Linked DNA regions of Homo sapiens: region 2 is linked to region 1. Evidence: promoter capture Hi-C in human tissues and cell types (Jung and others, 2019). All regions are on one chromosome and are shown on one strand. The core of a region is centred on a gene start or on the middle of the fragment in contact, and the rest is flanking DNA. Distances in the headings are between cores, read along the strand shown. Region 1 holds the start of DAZAP2 (DAZ associated protein 2). Region 2 holds the start of GPD1 (glycerol-3-phosphate dehydrogenase 1).

The links. Contacts are between HindIII fragments. The study calls those that stand out against the background at their distance.
Region 2: a contact is called between the fragment with the promoter of GPD1 here and the fragment with the promoter of DAZAP2 in region 1, in 1 of the 25 tissues and cell types used here (liver).

Annotation. Positions count from the first base shown.
Region 1 is chr12:51,236,351-51,241,386 of GRCh38, reverse strand. DAZAP2 (DAZ associated protein 2) reads right to left here and starts at 2,561. Exons shown (of 4, transcript NM_014764.4): 1 at 2,467-2,561; 2 at 926-1,044; 3 at 271-516. The coding sequence starts at 2,479. RefSeq lists enhancers at 962-1,598, 2,315-2,564, 2,488-2,782, 2,874-3,511 and a silencer at 2,655-2,764. The HindIII fragment of the contact is 10,606 bases long and covers 519-5,036 here.
Region 2 is chr12:50,100,943-50,105,978 of GRCh38, reverse strand. GPD1 (glycerol-3-phosphate dehydrogenase 1) reads right to left here and starts at 1,971. Exons shown (of 8, transcript NM_005276.4): 1 at 1,888-1,971; 2 at 1,228-1,405; 3 at 291-431. The coding sequence starts at 1,928. RefSeq lists an enhancer at 2,912-2,961. The HindIII fragment of the contact is 8,009 bases long and covers 1-4,043 here.

The sequences.
Region 1 (5,036 bases), core at 1,312-3,811:
GTTCAGTGTACCACAATGAACTGGAAAAGCAGCAAGCAGGACTCGACAGACATGAAAACAAAAGAATCTGGTTAACTCAGCCCCCAGTGAGATGCTACTCACTTGCCACAGTTCTGCCCCCTCAAACACTTTCTGCCTGAGTATTGGATGTCAGTAGTTGTACCAACACTGGCAACTATCATCCAGAAATGGTAAGAGAATGAATATGAAGTCATTTCAGAAAGTTAAAATACACAAGGGCTGAGTTTCTTCTGATGAGGTCATACTCACAGGAATGTTGCCAGCAGTAGCCCCAGCTCCAAATCTGGCACCTGCATCATACCCTCCTTCCACCAGCACTGTGGAGCCAGGTGGATAGATGGGACCGACTGGATAATAAGCCATGGGGATTGTGGAACCTAAAGGCCCAACAGCCACAGACTGGGCCATGGGAAGATACAGAGAGGCTCCAGGAAATGCGGCTGACATGGTGGGGACTGTGGCAGCCCCTGGGTGCACAAAGCTCGGACGATAGAGCTAGAAGAGGCAGAAGAGAAGGCAAAATGTTACTTTATGACATTCCTATTTGAGATCTCTTTAATGAGCTAATTCTTAATTCTCCTTATGCAGGTTATACTTTTTGTAAGATTATACAAGTTGCCTTTCCACTGGCCTTCAATATTCTCCTGGATCACTTTCTGCTATAGCTAATGTTGGGCTCACAGAACGCAAATTCATCTTCTGCACCTTAGCCTGTGCCAAATAACACAAAATCATCAAATAATGCACTTTCAACTCCGACAAAAATTGCCAAATTATATAGTGTTTTAGATTATTCATGTTAGCATTTGTGAAGAGTAAATATGTGAAGTCAGATTTAGCTAAGGACTAAAGGACCACCCTAAGAGTATTCCCAGCTAGTTCAAATCTGGCAAACTGGAAGCACCTCTGAGTAGGCAGGTGGAGCATCGGTATAGGGTGGAGCCTGAGGAAGATGCAAGGTCTGAGGGTATACTGGATTCCCAGGAGGCTGCACAGGGTAGGTTGGCTGTGTTGGATATTGACCTGAAAGACAAGAAAAAAATGAAGGTTGCCTACTACACAGAGCTACCAAAATGAGGCAGGTCATATCGGGTAGCTAACTTAGTGGGAGCAAGCAGAAGGGGATTTGCAAATAGTCTGCCCCAGAGGGCCTGATTCCTGGAACTAAGAAAATATGCATTGTCTTTGCACCCTTAAAATGGAAGGTGCTGGATTCTAACGAGACAAGAAAGGCACTGCTCACTGCTCCTACTAACATACCGAAGTAAGGGGTTAAGTCTACCTGGGCCCAAGTTCCCTCCGGAATGCAGGACAGGTCTGGGGTTCTGGCCTGCTGCTGTTCTGGCTTATCAAGGGTGCCTCTGCTCTAGGTAGTCTCCACAGCCTGTCTACAACCAGCCCAGACTTCGTGGGTAACAGCAGTTCTGATTTTCCTTACAGATTACTATTCAAGGTCGACTTCCAAACAAAGGGTGTGAATGATGGAAGTGAACCGTGAGACTGGGAAAAGGGTGCAGGGCTGAGGGGTGAGGAGGAATATCCTCACTGGAAAAGCGGGGGATCAGGTTTGGTTTTTTGTTTGTTCTGAGACGGAGTCTCGCTCTTTTGCCCAGGCTGGAGTGCAGTGGCGCGATCTCGGCTCACTGCAACCTCCGTCTCCTGGGTTCAAGCAATTCTCCTACCCCAGCCTCCCGAGTAGCTGGGATTACAGGCGCCCGCCACCACGCCCAGCTGATTTTTGTATTTTTTAATAGAGACGGGGTTTCACCACGTTGGCCAGGCTGGTCTCGAACTCTTGACCTCAGGTGATCCGCCCGCCTCGACCTCCCAAACTGCTGGGATTACAGGCGTGAGCAACCTCGCTCGGCCTTTTTTTTTTTTTTTTTTCTATTCCTTTTTTACCCCCTCAACCTATTCCTGCGTTATGGGAATCATGTTCCGACAGACACACTGGTACAACCACAGAAAAGGGGAGAAGTTCTGATCCCGTCAGCGAAGGGCGAGGGGGTGCGAAGGGAAGGAAAAGAGACCTCACAGGCCCCGGCCCACGAACCAACTCCAGCAATTCAGTAGTTAAGTTCGGCCCCGCTGGGGGTTCCGGAGCGCGGCGCCCCGCCTCCGCCGGCTCTCCATTGGCCTACGCGAATGCCTGCGCTAGCGCTCTATTTGCTCCTGCGGATGCCCATCATGTCAAGCCCCCCCACCACCCGAGCCCGCAGCTCCAAACTGCGCCACAGAGTTTACGGAGGAAAGGGCCTGGAGGCAGCAAGCTGCCGTAATTTGGGTATGACGAAGGCGTCAGGCGCAGCGCCCTGGACTGCAGCCGGCCAAGGAGCATGGCGCAGCCCACCCCAAACCTGGCGTTTGGTGACCCTGGGCTCCGAATCCGCTCGCTCTGGGCCAGCAGTACTCCCCCCGACGGCCTCTGCCACCCTCGGTCCTTGCCTTTGCTGTTCATGGTGGTTGCGGGTCCGGTTTGTCTCGGCGTCGCGGACGGTTATTTTTTTCGTCCTCTTCCTGTTCGGAGCTACTTCCGTGTCACATGATGGTCCGTCCGCCTAGCGTCACCCGACGCCCGAGTGGCGCTGCCGCCGGAAACTCCGCCCCTGCTCCGGGCCTCCAGTCGGCCGCGGGAGGGTCCGCGCGGTCCCGCCCACTCGCCTTGGCCCCACCCCCTGCTCGTTTCTGTCCTCCCCCCCCCTACCGGTGTCCCTCAGCTGGAGAAAAACCAAATGCAGGTATTGTCTGGAAACAGGATCTTTTCTCTGTTGGACGCTCGGATGCAGAACGATGCAAGCATTCCCCGGAACCTTTTTCCACCTACACGCATTCACTCAAGGTCACCTCACCTTGGCAACCTTCCACGAGGGGCTTAGATTTCTGCAAATTTGTCGCACTGCCTGAAATCGGCTCCCCACACCTTAGTTTATCATGCGTCCCTCCCCACCAAGCCCAACTTAAGCTTCAGCTCTGTTAAAATTTATTTTGCCACTCCAGCTCACATGTATCCTTTCCTGAATGAGACCTGCACTGGAATCTTCGCTGCCCTGTCTTCCCCAGGACAGTCGTTGCCTTTCTCACGTACAGGAAGGGGTTATGTTTTCCGTGCTGTACGCAACACCTGGCACTGAAACTGACATAACTGCACTACCCATGGAGTGTTTGTGGCCCTTTCCTTTTTTTAGCACCTGTTGCAGGTGACCTGTATGGTACCTCTATTTTTCTCTATGTATGGCTTCTCTTTCTAACCTAATTATCCTTAAGGGCAAAGATGGCATCCTTTAGGGCAGCGATTAAGTGTTTTCTTTTCTTTTTCTTTTTTTTTTGAGACGGAGTCTTGCTCGCTTGCCCAGGCTAGAGTGCAGTGGGGCGATCTCACCACAGCCTCCACCTCCCGGGTTCAGGCAATTCTCCTGCCTCAGCTTCCTGAGTAGCTGGGCCTACAGGCGTGCGCCACCATTCCTGGCTAATTTTTGTATTTTTAGTAGAGACGGGGTTTCACTATGTTGGCCAGGCTGGTTTTCTTTCTTTCTAAAAAAAGTTTTAATTTTTTCTTTTCTTTTTTTTTTTTTTTTTTTTTTTGAGATGGAGTCTTGCTCTGTCGCCCAGGCTGGAGTGCAGTGGCATGATCTCGGTTCACTGCAACCTCCGCCTCCTGGGTTCAAGCAATTCTCCTGCCTCAGCCTCCCGAATAGCTGGGATTACAGGTGCCCGCCACCACGACCGGCAAATTTTGTATTTTTTAGTAGAGACGGGGTTTCACCATGTTGGCCAGGCTGGTCTCGAACTCCTGACCTCAGGTGATCCACCTGCCTCGGCCTCCCAAGGTTCTGGGATTACAGGCATAAGCCACTGCGCCGAGCCTTATTTTTATTTATTTATTTATTTATTTATTTATTTATTTATTTATTTATTTATTTTTGAGACAGAGGCTTGGTCTGTCGCCAGGCTGGAGTGCAGTGGCGCAATCTCAGCTCACTGCAACCTCCGCCTCCAGGGTTCTAAGCGATTCTCCTGCCTCAGCCTCCCGACTAGCTGGGATTACAGGCACGTGCTATTCATTTTTTAATACAGAGATGGGGTCTCCCTGTGTTGGCCAGGCTGGTCTTGAATTTCCAGCCTCAAGCGATCTTGCCACCTCCATTGTCCAATGATTAAAGGGTTAACTCTTAGGACCCAGGAACTCTCCTGGGCCTACCTCCTGCTCATGTAAACTGCCCTCAGATTGGTCAGGCCTACTTTACAGGTTGTTGGGTATTTTGCTTGTCACAGTGGGACCTGGGCATTGGGAAAACCAGGGCAGAGCCAAATGAGATTACTAACAAAAATGAAAGAGTTGCAGGCCAGTGCTTTCTCTGGCAGGTGGAATTAAGAAGTAAATGGTGGCTGGGTGCAACAGCTCACACCTGTAATCCCAACACTTTGGGCAGCCTAGGCAGGAGGATCGCTTGAGCCAGGAGTTCAGAACCAGCCTAGGCAGCATAGTGAGACTTCATCTCTACAAAAAAAAGTAGTAGTAATTAGCTACTTTCTTGAACAGGATCAAACTTTGGCATTTTCTTCATTCTCGTAGATTCCCCAATGAGATGAAGATGTTTATTTGGTCATTTATCAAACATTCTTTCTTACATTAATTTAACAAATATTTTTTGAGCACCTATTATGTGCCAGGCCCTGTGACAGGCACTAGGGAAATAATAATGAAGAGACAGGCATAGTCCATACTCTCATGGAATTTATGGTCTACCTAATGGGAGAGACAGAAAAGTGAACACATAATATGATTAGTGCTGACATAAAGACAGCATGGAGTGTGAGGAGAACACATAGGTGAGGCACCTACTCTATTCTGATGTAGTCAGGGAAGGTTTCCTGATGCAAGTGATGTCTGAGATGAAATCTGAAGGGTGAGAGCAGGTTAAGCAAGTGAAGAGGGTTCCTGGAAGAGGGAACTGCTTATGCAAAGGCCTAGAGGTGAGAAGGCTTATAGAGGGGGAGGGCATGAAAGAGTTCAG
Region 2 (5,036 bases), core at 722-3,221, 1.1 Mb after region 1:
CACACTTCTCAAACCAGCCCGCTTCTCATATCTCCCAGGCATTCCTTTATACCTCCGAAACTCCCCGAGAGGACCTCCAAACCAATCTCGTCTCCTCCCTTCAGCCTCCCTTCCAGTGACCCCCAGCACCTCACTGCTTTCCTAAGCCTCTCCAGAGCCAACTGCCTCTCTTTTCTCCAGCAAACTCTTGGCCTGCGTCTGCCATTTTCTGTTCTCCTTGCTTCACCCACCCTGAACCCCACAACAGTGAGCCGCACCCTCCCCCATCCACATGAAGGTGTCCCTGGCACCTTAATAAGAGATATGCCAGTGGCGTTTGCCTTCAGATGGCCCTTGAGCTGGTCACAGATCTTGCCGATGAACTGATGGGGCACCACAAAGATCAGGATGTCAGCATCCTCTGCAGCCTGGACCACATCTGGGACAGCCACCTGTGGGGGTGACCAAGTGCTCGCGGGCCTGGCAGACCTCCCCTAGCCCCTGTGGAACCCTATTCAGGAGATCTGGGAGCCAAAGAGTGAGGCTGGTAGGGGAGCAGGAAGGCTTGTTTGGGACTGAATCTAGAAGGACTGAACTTGGAGGAATAAGACACTCTACTCCCTCCCCCCAGCTACCACTCTGTCTCCCTCCAGCTGTCCTGGGCTCTTGAGGACTCCTGGAAACCTCATCCCAGCACTCTCCTATCCCTTGGCTGTGGGACAGTGCGGGAGGCCAAAAGCAGCCTGGGCTTGGCAAAAGAAAGAGCTCAAATAAGATTTCATCACCCAGCTCCTCAGGAACCCCAGCTGGGAAGGGGGAGCCCCAGCCTTTCTGCTCTCTTCCCTGCTTCCCCTTTCCAGGTGGGGAGAGCCACGTGGATTTGACCAAAGACCGTAAGTCCAAGGAGCAGCCTCCAAGTCGGCTACTCACTCAGTGAATGAGTAACAGGATTAGTGCCGGAGGCAGGCACTACTGGACCCCAAGTCTGGGAGCCCAGTCTTTGGCTGCCATGGAGACCAACTTGTTCTCCCATCCCTTCCCCACCCACCCGCCTGGGAGCCTGTGAGGGGAAAGCATAGGTTCTCCTCAGTCCTCAGGAAAGGGCCCAGAGCAGCCCTCCTGAGACCTTCCCAAGTCCTGCTGCACCTGAAGCGGCCCTCTCAGCAGGAGGCACCTGTTGAGTAAGGTCGGCTCCAACTCCTGGCCCTCCCTTCCTCTCCCTGTTCTTCGCAGGGTGTTGGGGCTCACCACATTTGGGGGCAACTTGTGCCCTGGCAGGTATTTGACATTCTCATGCTGCGTGTTGATGATCTCAGTCAGCTTTTTGCCTCCAATGTCTTCCTCAAATACCCACATGGTCACCCGTGGGTCAAACTGTGCCAGCTGGGCTGCATTGCCACCCACGATCTTGGCGATGGCTGAGCCCCTGGTGGGAGGGGGAGCACAGGAAAGTACAGGAGGAGGGAACAGTGGCAGGAGTTGGGGCAGCGCCCCACCTCAGGATCTCACAGCAGCCCCCCAGGCTGTTCACTCCTACCTACCTTCCTTATCACCTCCACTCCCATGACAAATAGTCCCCAGTGACCTGGCAGTAGAAAGGAGACTCAGTCTCCTCACCCTTTGCTACTAGAGAAGGGAGCCCCACTTCTCATCTTCCCACCCCCAAACTCAAGCGGCTCTTCACATAGAGAGCTCTGGAGACGCCTTCCCATGGTGAACAGGTGCAGCTGCCCAGGAGGGCGGGGGTCAGGAGAGGGCCGGGCACCGTCTGTCCTGTGCTGCTATGATAGAAGATAGCAGCAGGGGCTGAACAGGAACCTGAGGGCCTTTCCCACCCATTCTGCCTCCTACCCACCTCTGTCTTGGGGGGCCTACCCTTCCCCCATATCACTTGACAGAGCTGCTTACCAGTTCCCGGAGCCTACAATGCAGACTTTCTTGCTAGCCATGGTGCCGCGTCTCTGCCTGAGCCGGCTCAGTGCCACACTCCCTAGCTCCTCTGCCGGCTAGGAGCATTTAACTCCACCACACGTGGGTGCAGCCAAGCCCCGCCCTCCAGGGGTGGGTGGGGAGGCTGGCGCCCAGGGAGATAGAGAGTCTGGCAGAGCCAGGGAAAGGAGAGACAGGGGTACAGACAGGTGTGGAACAGGAATGGGGCAGAGACTAGGCCCAGCTTTTTCTCCTGGGCTCATCGGCTGACAGTGCTGGCAAGCTTCTTCCCTTGGCCCCAGCCCAGCTTCCCACCATGGTCTCATTTTGAGGTCTGCTAAGAAAATAGCCCAGATAAGGAGCAGGTGACTGCTCTCCCTTGCTCCTTTCTGTCCCCCAGCATGAAATAAATTGTATTTAGCTTCAGTAGCAGCTAGGGGAATGCTTTTCAGAGGTAGGCTCCTCCATGACCCCCTATCCCCCCGCCAACCCTGCCACATATCCTCACAGGACCCTGTTCCACAGTTCTGTCCTCCAGCAGGCCCACGCTAGCTCCACTGCAGGGCTGGGGTGGGGGATGTGGGCCCACTTCCCACCTCTAAAGATGAGGCCACATAAGAGGTAAGGGCCTGCTTTGAGGACAGCCCAGCTCAAAAAAGGATGAGAGACTCCAGGTGCCTCAAAAGACAAGATTGTCTTGGTCACCCACAGAGGTCATCTTGGGGACTCATCCATGGGCCTCTCAGATGATCCCCACCCAAAAATGTGTTCTAGGGAAGGTGGGAAAGGTTAAAGTTAGAGAGCTCTGAGAATTGCGGTACACAATTTTGTTGTAGACTCTGGGCTTAAGAGGACAGGAGAGAATAGGAGGCAGGCAGAGTGCACACTGTCCTTGAAAGGCTTTGAGCCTCCTTCAACTCCTCCTCTCAGGGGTTTCCAAGGTACTGCCCCAGGGGCTTCATCAGGTGAATGGCTAGTTTGCAGAGGCCAGAAAAGGGGAAGGCAGGCAGTACCCGGGGCAGCTGTGTCCGTGGGGCTTTGTGGTCTCAGATGCTGTGATTGGGGGTAAGTTTGGTGTATGTTTTTTGGGGAAGGGCGAGAATGGAAGGAGCACCCTCAGCAGTTCAGGGCTCTGCATCGCCCACGGCCATCTGTTTGTCTAAGACGAGGGAAGCTCTGGTTTCCAGGCTGATCTGGAGAGTGGAGCAAGAGGCTCCTAACACTGTGCACCTTGGCCTAGAGGGCAGACACCACTGTGTGCTCATGTGCTGACCTCCTGGCTTGGCAGACGGCTAGGTGGGTGTTGCCATCCCCCTGGGCTGTTGCTGGCCAGCAACTGGTAACAAGCACTGGGCTACAGGGGAGTCTGTGTGCAACCCATGGGTAGGAGTAAGCAGGCAGGAGGTCAAGACTGGGGAGAAATGGCTTTCTAAGTTCCGGGGACTGCCCAGGAAAAACCAACCATATTCTCCTTCCATGGCCAGTAATTTCCCATAGGGAAACGGACATGAAATCAGTAGTTGGCTGTTTTTCTTAGCACAATGTTATACCTAATACAGAAACAGCCTCCCACAGACCACTCCTTTATTGCACTGGCACTGAGATGAAGGCTCCAGTGCCAGGCTGCCAGCTGGGAGCACTGATTACGGGTGATGGAAGAGAAAGGATGCTTCTGTCCCTGGCACAAATGATGGGAGCCCCAAAGAATGGATGTTTATGCATAAAATAACCCCCTTGTTTTTGCCTAAATGCTTCCCTCTCTCATTTTGCCCCTACAATCATTTTAGATAGTGTGGAGACTAAGAATGTGCTCATTTACATGGGAATAAAGAGGGTGCAGAGATTCAGAATCGGCTCATCACAGGAAGTTATCTGTATCACTAGAGCTCTTTTCCCAAGAGCAAACTGTAGATTTGCTTGAAATTAATAATGGTTCATCAGCCATTCATTACACATGTAATTAGCCTGGGTAAAAACAGATGCCATTTCAATGTCCTTGACATCAATTTTCTCCACTCCTAGTTATCGGCCCAACCACTCCTCTCTGCTTTCCCTTCTCAAGTCTGATAAACCCCAAGTTCCGGAGTAGGAACAGTGGTTGGATTTTTTGGTGGGTTTGATTACATATATTGAACAGGCAATACTAGAATGTTCCCATCCAAACAGGCAAAGGATAATTTTTAAACTACAACTTTGGAAAGTGGTTGTACTCTGATCCTATATTCCAAACCCCATTCTTGCATAATGACAAAGGAAAAAAGTCATGAGCCTCCAAGTGGGAAGCAGGCAGAACTGCAGGCGAGTTTCAAGTGATTGCTAATGGGAATCCCTCCTGAGCTGTCTTCCAAACTCTGCCAAGGAGGGGCTAGTTGTCTACAGTATGAGGATGACAACACAGAACTTCCATGGTGCTCTTAAGAACCAGCTACTCAGGAGGCTGAGGCAGGAAAATCACTTGAACCTGGGAGGCGGAGGTTGCAGTAAGCCGAGAACGCGCCATTGCACTCCAGCCTGGGGAACAAGAACACAACTCCATCTCAAAACAGGCAAACAAAAACTGAACTCTTATTTGAACCATGAAAGCGGAACCTTAGAGTAGCAGGCACAGGCTGGGCACGGTGGTTCACACCTGTAATCCCAGCACTTTGGGAGACCGAGGCGGGCGGATCACGAGGTCAGGAGATCGAGACCATCCTGGCTAACACGGTGAAACCCTGTCTCTACTAAAAAATACAAAAAATTAGCCGGGCATGGTGGCAGGCGCCTGTAGTCCCAGCTACTCGGGAGGCTGAGGCAGGAGAATGGCGTGAACCCAGGAGGCAGAGCTTGCAGTGAGCCAAGATCGCGCTACTGCACTCCAGCCTGGGCAACAGTGAGACTCCGTCTAAAAAAAAAAAAAAAAAAAGAGTAGCAGGCACAAAAAGCAAAAATGTCTTTGGTCGTCCAGATCCTGCCCACATCTAAACAGAAGCCCTGGGGAAGAAGTGAAACTCCTCCAAAGGCGGCTCAGGTTCGTCAAACCTAAGGGATCACGGGCATCTATGGCTCACTCCAGCCAACAAGTGCTCTGGGGAGCTCAGATGGACAAGGGGGAAAATGACTGCCACCAACCTGTTAGTACCTGCCTA